Regions from separate parts of the Homo sapiens genome. Here region 1 is linked to region 2. Evidence: promoter capture Hi-C in human tissues and cell types (Jung and others, 2019). All regions are on one chromosome and are shown on one strand. The core of a region is centred on a gene start or on the middle of the fragment in contact, and the rest is flanking DNA. Distances in the headings are between cores, read along the strand shown. Region 1 has its middle 9.1 kb from the start of LINC03052. Region 2 holds the start of FAHD2A (fumarylacetoacetate hydrolase domain containing 2A).

Evidence for each region. The method cuts DNA at HindIII sites, captures the fragments that hold promoters and counts their contacts. A contact is called where the count stands out against the background at its distance.
Region 1: a contact is called between a fragment that was not itself captured here and the fragment with the promoter of FAHD2A in region 2, in 1 of the 25 tissues and cell types used here (dorsolateral prefrontal cortex).

Annotation. Positions count from the first base shown.
Region 1 is chr2:95,533,773-95,537,917 of GRCh38, reverse strand. No RefSeq gene overlaps it. Among named protein-coding and RNA genes, the nearest start is that of LINC03052, 9.1 kb to the right of the region's middle. The HindIII fragment of the contact is 3,299 bases long and covers 1,009-4,145 here.
Region 2 is chr2:95,400,784-95,404,664 of GRCh38, reverse strand. FAHD2A (fumarylacetoacetate hydrolase domain containing 2A) reads right to left here and starts at 1,957. Exons shown (of 8, transcript NM_016044.3): 1 at 1,793-1,957. RefSeq lists enhancers at 1,049-1,168, 1,309-2,247, 2,239-2,318, 2,248-3,187. The HindIII fragment of the contact is 15,771 bases long and covers 518-3,881 here.

The sequences.
Region 1 (4,145 bases), core at 1,409-3,908, 130 kb before region 2:
AATTTTTCAATAAACTGAGCTTGTTTCTATAAGTGATGTCATTTGCTTACTTAGTAAAAATGTTTTTACACTTACTTTGTCATCCTGTCTTCCTACATACTTGTGAACTACAGTGAAGATTAATTTTAGTTGTATCATTTATGCATTCCTTAGTTGTTCCTATGTATTGTAAGAACACAGAAAATAGTTTTCAGATATTTTACAATTTTATACTTGCTGTATATACTAAATTTTATTGAGAATATTTTATTCTATATGTTGTGCATAAATGTAATACCCTCTGTTATAAAGGTGGCACACAAATATATGCGCAAGACAGAATATTCTATAATATACAACTTAGGTAATGCATTGACTAATTTGAGGATAATATTGTTTTAGAGTATACTAAATGTCTCTTTAGCATTTCTGGGTGAAATCTGATCAAATTTCAGAATGTTCAGTAAATAAATAATGGTTATATAGAAATTATTTTGCAGTGGTGGACTGTGATTGAGATTCTTCAAAATACTTTAAAGGAGAAAATTATGATATCTAAATGAAACAATGGGAGAAAAATCTCAGTTAAATACCATTTCCTAAACTAATCACTTTTTTATTCTTTTGTACAAAATCAATCTTTTCTAAACCAATCACAACGAGCATTAAGAATGGTTTTCAGAGTATTCAGGACCCATCATCTAATGGTATAAATTGGTCCTAATTTCATCCCCTTAAACCTCAAGCTTTTTGGAGTAAAGTCAAAATTCAACAAAACTGAGGATTCTTTTGTTTTCTTCTTTCTTTCTTTCTTTTCTTTCTCTTTCTTTCTTTCCTTCTTTCCTCTCTTTCTCTCCTTCCTTCCCTCCTGCCCTCCTTCCTTCCTTCCATTCTTTCTTTTTCTTTCTTTTATAGGTCTTGCTTTATTGCTCAGGCTGAAGAGAATTGGCTCAATCTCAGCTAACGGCAACATCAGGGTTCAAGCGATTCTCCTGCCCAGTCTCCTGAGTGGCTGGGATTATAGGCATGTGCCACCACTCCTGACTGATTTTTGCATTTTTAGCAGAGACGGGGATTCCCCATATTGGCCAGGGTCGTCTCCAACCTGATCTACCAGCCTTGGTATCCCAAAGTGCTGGGATTACAGGTGTAAGTCACCACACCTGGCCTCTCTGAGGTTCATTCTTCTATGCAAAAGAAAAGGGTAGTATGTAGTGCCCTGTGAGTTATGCATGAACCCAACAATTTTACCTACAGATCTGAGAGCTCTCTTTGTACCTCAGGTTCTATTTTTGTCTTATACAAAATAAAGCTTATTCTACTCTAGACAGAAGTTTATCATTGAGTTACAACCTGAGTCAAATTTTGCTTTGGTCTGTGTTTCTCCAGGGCATAAGATGAAGAAGTTTGAATGATACCTTTCCTAATTTCCTTCCTTCAGGAAAATGGTCTCAGAGATCACACAAGCCTTCCAGAAAGAGCCCATCTGTCTCTTCTGTCTGAACTAACTCGTAGATCCCATCACCACAGGCTGTGTCCCCAGCTTCTGTAGACCCTGTCTCTGCCTTTCCTGGGAAGAAGCCAAAATTCCTACCTGCTGCCCACATTCAGGGAACCATCACAGCAGGAGGACATCAAAACCAATATTCTTCTGAAGAATCTAGTGTGCATTACCAGGAAAACCAGTCTCTGGCAATTCCTGAGCTCTAATGAACAAATGTGTGGAACCCACAGGGAGACAAAAAGATATTTGAAGAGGTGGACAAGAGCCTGCTTCATTTGCTGTTCTGGGACACTCAGGAGCACCAGGATCACAGACACTGTGAGGGGCAGCTAAGGAACACTGGGTAAGTGATGGCTCTGAGAGCACTTTGAAAGCTGGAGGATGGCACAAGTAAAGAGATTAGGGGGAAGTTGAAGAGCATGATGATTAGTCTGTTCTGTACTGGATGTCATGTAGTGCCTAGGTATCAATGATAAAAATTTCAGTGGAATCTGTGAGAATACCTTCCTTCCTTGAACTTACATTTCACTGAAGGAGTGATGAAGTTAATAATCATTATAATAATTTGACTATTTAGTGTAATGTTCAAGGCACTGTAAAGAGCTCAATATCAGGAAGAGTTTCTGGCTATCCAAACTACAAGTTCAAAAGGCTTCTATATAAGAAACCTATGTACCAACACTGGAAATAATAGAATAAAATATGCTAGAATTAGCAAGGCATGGTGTCAGTAGATTCCAATTCTGCTGCAAGATGCCACATTATCTATAAATTAGCCCTGCTTATGATTTTCCTATAAACTTGTTGCATTACATGTTGTGGTTCTACAGTCTGAGATCTTCCCAAATCTTTCATATCTCATCAGTTGATTTCTTTATCACTGGGGGTCTGAAACCCAAAACGATTTGCTTCTCTGATGTTCACATTCATAGTTCTTTTACAGGAGAAGATCATGAAGCAAATGAGATCTTTATGGGCAAAAATTCAAGAAAACCAAAGAAATTTAAGTGAGAAAAGCAGGAAACCCAGCCAGTGGATTGTAAGTATTAGGCCTTTTCCCTCAGATTCAACCTCAGACAGACATGCTAGAAATGTATCCACTTATCACTTGAATGGAAATCGTGTTGGTTAGGATTTGAGGAAGATTTTTTCTCATGGCTTCCAATCCTGAGGGTACAATGCAGCATTGATTACTGCTCAGAGAGAGTGGTCAGGCTATGCAGTAGGGAGACTTGGTACTAAAGACTAATTTAAAAACACAGAGATCATAATACTGCAAACAATTATCTGTGAATCAACCATTAATTCCAATGGCTCTCATGTAGGTTTTTCAATATCAAAGGGTATATATTGAAGAAATGATCAATAATAACCTTTCTTCAGGTGTTTCAGGAAGTCATATAATGAATAAAAGTGGTATGAGAAAAGAATGAATTTGACTTCTAGTATTGTTAAGAAACAATAAAGATAAATGAAAGAAAGGGAGGAATGATTGATTTCATGGTTCTGAGAAGTAGGAAGACACAAATTTATGTACATAGCTTATTGGTAGAATACATGAGTCAGTCTAGGCTTGGTGTCTCAAGTCCATAATCCGTATAATTTGGGAGACCGAAGCAGGAGAATCACTTGAGACCAGGAGTTTCAAACCAGCCTGGCCATCAACATAGTGAGACCCCTAACTTTATTATGAAGAAAAGATGAAAGAGATAAAGAAAAGAGAACCTGAGTTAAAGTGAATAAAGGATGTGTAAGAGGAGGAGGATGAAGTCAGAATAAATATGTCATCTAGGAAATCCAGGTCCCTGCAGTGCTATGTGCAGCTATGGGCAGAGATGACCAGAGCTGAGTAGAGGAAGCTGCATTCAGTTCCCTATGAGAAGTAAAACAACATATAGAGAAACTTACAGAGGATGACAGAAAGATTTTACAGCAACTTAAGAAAAGCAAAAACGCAAAATGGTTCAGAAAAAAAAAAACACCTAAGAAAAATCTATAAGGAGCTGATGAAAATGTGCCATGATCTAGATGTGGAGCTGCTCCAGGAAAGAACCAATAACATGCCTAAAAAATTTTTATATTATTTGAAGTTCATACCTTACAACAAGCTTGTCCAACCCATGGTCTTTGGGCCACACATGGCCAAGGATGGCTTTGAACATGGCCCGACACAAATTCCTAAACTTTCTTGAAACATGATGAGATTTTTGTTTGTCATTTTATTAAAGCTCTTCAGCTATAGTTAATGTTAGTGTATTTCATGTGTGGCCCAAGACAATGCTTTTTTCTAATGAGGCCCAGGGAAGCCAAAAGATTGCACACCACTGGCTTAGGTGATATTATTTATTCAACACCATAGATGTGTGTGTGTATATATATGTATATGTGTGTATGCATATATATATATATATATATATATATGTATATGTGTGTATGCATATATATATATATATATATATATATATATATATATATATATATATAAAATATTTAGCTCCTGCTGCTAAGATGGAGGATCTTTTCCAAATAGAAATAACATAGACAAAATGTAATTCTTTTCCTAACCATGAACAAGCAAGCTTGTGGAATTTTTAAGTGGATATAATTTTCTATTCCCATTTATCAAAATTGGCCACAGAGAATATTACCCTCTAGTAAACTT
Region 2 (3,881 bases), core at 708-3,207:
GACATTTCACTACTTGGGAAAGCTTAGTGCTTGTTAACTTCAGGAGACATGGCTGTGCCTTCCCACAAGGGCCAGTTGTAGTGGCTCATGCGTGATATCCCTAACAATTTGGGAGGCCGAGGTGGGTGGATCACTTGAGGTCAGGAGTTCAAGACCAGCCTGGCCAACGTGGTGAAACCCCGTTTCCACTAAAAATACAAAAAACTCGCCGAGTGTGGTGGCAGCCACCTGTAATCCCAGCTACTAGGGAGGCTGAGACACGAGAATCGCTTGAACCCAGGGGAAGGAGGTTGCAGTGAGCTGAGATCGCGCCACTGCACTCCAGCCTGGGTGACAGACGAAGACTCCATCTCAATTAAAAAAAAAAAAATCCTCAGGGCTCAGATCCTGTTTTGAGTCCAAGGCTCCACTTAAAGACAAACACTATTCTCTTGTTTTGTTCTTAATCCACGTCTGGCCTCTATTCCTTACCACATGGTGCCTTCCCTGAATGGTTCCTTGCTCTTACAACAAAGGCGGTATTGTACAGCCTTCTATGCCCAAAAATGTGGAGGCAGCTGATCCCCAGACTCTTGGTCCTCACCTGGAGATTCAATCTGCCTTGTTCAGTTGAAGATTCATTAGACTTAGGTCACCACTGTTGTGGCCCACCAGTTTGACTAGAAAACCGAGGGCTTTGACTTCTCTGCCCTGCTGTCTTACACAAGCACCAACTGTGCCACTGTCAAAAGGCTGTTCGAGCCAATGTGCACACACTCAGACACTCCACATGCTAACATAACAGTAACTGCTGCCGCTGAATGCCAACTATTAAGTGCTCTACCTACAATGTCTGATTTAATTCTCGACAATTGTGGAAGGTAGGTACTGTTAGCCTCATTTTACAGATGAAACAATTAAGGCTTAAAGAGGTTAAGAGATTTGCCCAAGGTTACACAGTCCTAGAGCTAGGAGAGGAAGGAGCTGGGATGTGAATCCAAGTCCAGGTGACATGAAGTCCTTGGTTCAGAAGCTTGTAATGCAAGCAAAAAAATCCAGCTTCAGCCCCCATCCCCCTACCAAGGCCATTTTAACCCAGAATGTTGTGGTGAGAAGTGGGGACCTTCCATAGGAAATCCTCCAAAGTCTCTAAAGATTGTAGTGAGAAGTAGGGACCTCCCACAGGAGATCCTCCAGAGGCCGTAACTGCTAACAGACATGCGTGGGGAAACTACAGGCGCCCTCTGGCTGTTGCCTCAGGGACGAGGCTGGTTACCAGCTCTCCAAGAGAACCCCAGGCCCCACTGACTGTTCCCTTCCCACATGACACACACATGCAGGTTCATTCCAACCTTACAGCAATCTCCTCAGGTAGAGCGCCCTCACTTTAAAGAAGAGGACACTGAGACTCAAAGGGATGATGTCAGGTGCCCAAGGTACTAGTCAGAAAGTGGCCCTGGGGCTTCTGCAACAACCACTATATCACACAGCCCGAGCTCAATCCAACTCTGCAAGAGTCCATAAGCAAAGGGGCGGCGACATGAGGTGGAAACAGTAGCCTCCATCAAACAAAGCCTGAGACATGGGTGTGCACGTCGGATTCCATCCCACCGTCCACTCGCCTGGAACCCGTGCCGGTCCCCCAGTTTCCCCATATGCCCAGCTCCAGCCCCGACAGTTAGTGAGTGCTCACACAGGTCCGCCCCGTCTGTGTGGTCAGAAGCGGCTGGGGATCCGGTACTAGTTCTGCGCTCCGCGGGAGACCGGCGCCACGGACACCCTTCTGGCCTAGACCCAGCCAGGCTCGTCCTACCTGGCCGCGGCGGCCGATCTTCCTGCGCTGTAGGGTTAGAGCTCGCGGGGCCGAAGGTCAAGGGCGGCGGGCGCCTGAGCACTGCCACCAGTGACCGCAGCCAGCCGGGGAAATGCAGCAGCTGCTAACCCAGGGCCACTCGGCCGGATCACCCGAGAGAAAAGCGGGCGCGATCCTGTGACGTCACAGGCAATGGCCACTAGCAGGGCGCCAATCCCGGAGGGGCGGGCCCATCGTGGGGCGGGCGGCTCCGGCGGGTCTTCAGGCTACGGGTTCAGCCAGGCGCCAGCCGCGTTCTCTGGAGACGCTCTCTCTCGGAGGGACCCTGCACTTGCCTGAACTCGAGAGTGGGCGCTGCCCGAAGGTTTGTCCCTGGGCGCTTCGCTGGCCTCATCCGGTCTCGGCCTTGTTCTGGGCCTGGCGCCTTTCCCATTGTTGGGGAAAGTGGTCTAGGAGACCAAGGCAGCGTGCTGGGTGGCAGAGAATGATTTGTGGCTTCTGATTCTGACATATGTCGTTGAGGAGGGGAGGGATGACTGCCCCCGTTTTACTTATGGAGAACCTGGGGCCAGAGCTGTTTTCCCAGGGTGACACAGGCGGTGAGTAGTGGAGCTGGCATTCCTGACCCCAAAGCGCAGCGTTTCCCAGCCACTCTCCGCAGCCAGGCCTTCACCTGCACTGCTGGGCGCAGGTGGGGAAGTGGGGAAACGGGACTCCATCCCCTGCAGAGGGCAGGCGTGTAGGGAGTGGCAGCTGAACTCCACAGACAGCTACTGCTCAGCTCTTCAGCTGCCGACTTTGAACAGTGTGAGGGGCTCTGTACAAGTGGCCCCCACATTACTCAAGGACCAGATCATCAAGAGCTTTACTTGTCCCACGAAGGAGTCTGGACCTTGTTTACGTGCACAGGAGACCGCTGGAAGGTTCTCAGTGGCGTGCCATGTCCCGACTTCTATTTGAGAAGTTTTTCTCTGGCCACCCGTCTGAGGAAAGGTGTCTGGGTGGGTGGTGCGGTTGAGAACAATGGTGGTGCGGTGCGTGGTGGAGAAGGTGAGTGTCCAGAGATGTTCAGGAGGAAGAACTGACAGCTCTGAATGACAGGAGGTGGAAGTGAGAAGGAAGGAGGTACAAGGCCAACTCCTGGGTCTCTAGCTCGGTAGGTGCAGGGCCGTTCATGGAGACAGGGCTCCTGGAGGAGCAGCGGGTCTGGGGAGAGGATGGTGAGCTCCGATTTGCATGGGACATCCAAAGGGCATTGAACGGTGGGCAGTTGGAGACATGGGTCTGGAGCTTGGGACTTCAGCCTAGCTTGCAGAAGGTCACCACAGATATTGAAATGGAACCTATGGGGGTGGCTGTGATCAGGGGGATTCGCTGAGGAGAACCTGGCACAAGGGTTTCACTAAGCCATAGCTCCCAAAGACTTTCTGAAAAGCTAAGTTACAGCCTGGAAGAAAATATCTGTAAAGGCTATATTTGATAAAAAGACTTGTATCCAGAATATAGAAAGAATGCTTAAAAGTCAGTAGATAAAATCAAACAATTCAATTTTTTAGATGGACAAAATATTTGAACTGACATTTCATCAAATAAGATATACAGACAGAAAATTGGGACATGAAGGCTGGGCGCAGTGGCTCACGCCTGCAATCCCAGCATTTTGGGAGGCCGAGGCAGGCGGATCACAAGGTCAGGAGATCGAGACCATCCTGGCTAACACAGTTAAACCCCATCTCTACTAAAAATACAAAAAATTAGCCGAGCGTGGTGGTGGGCGCCTGTAGTCCTAGCTACTGGGGAGGCTGAGGCAGAAGAGTGGCGGGAACCCGGGAGGTGGAGCTTGCAGTGAGCCGAGATCGTGCCACTGCACTCCAGCCTGGGCGACAAAGCAAGACTCTGTCTCAAAAAAAAAAAGAAAGAAAAAATTAGGACATGAAAAGATGCTCAACATCATTAATCATTAAGGATATGCAAATTGCAAGCGCAATGTGACACCATCTCACACCTACTAGAATGGACAAAGAAGACTGATTATACCAAGTACTGGCAAGAATGTGGAGGACCTGGGATTCTTGTACACTGCTGATGG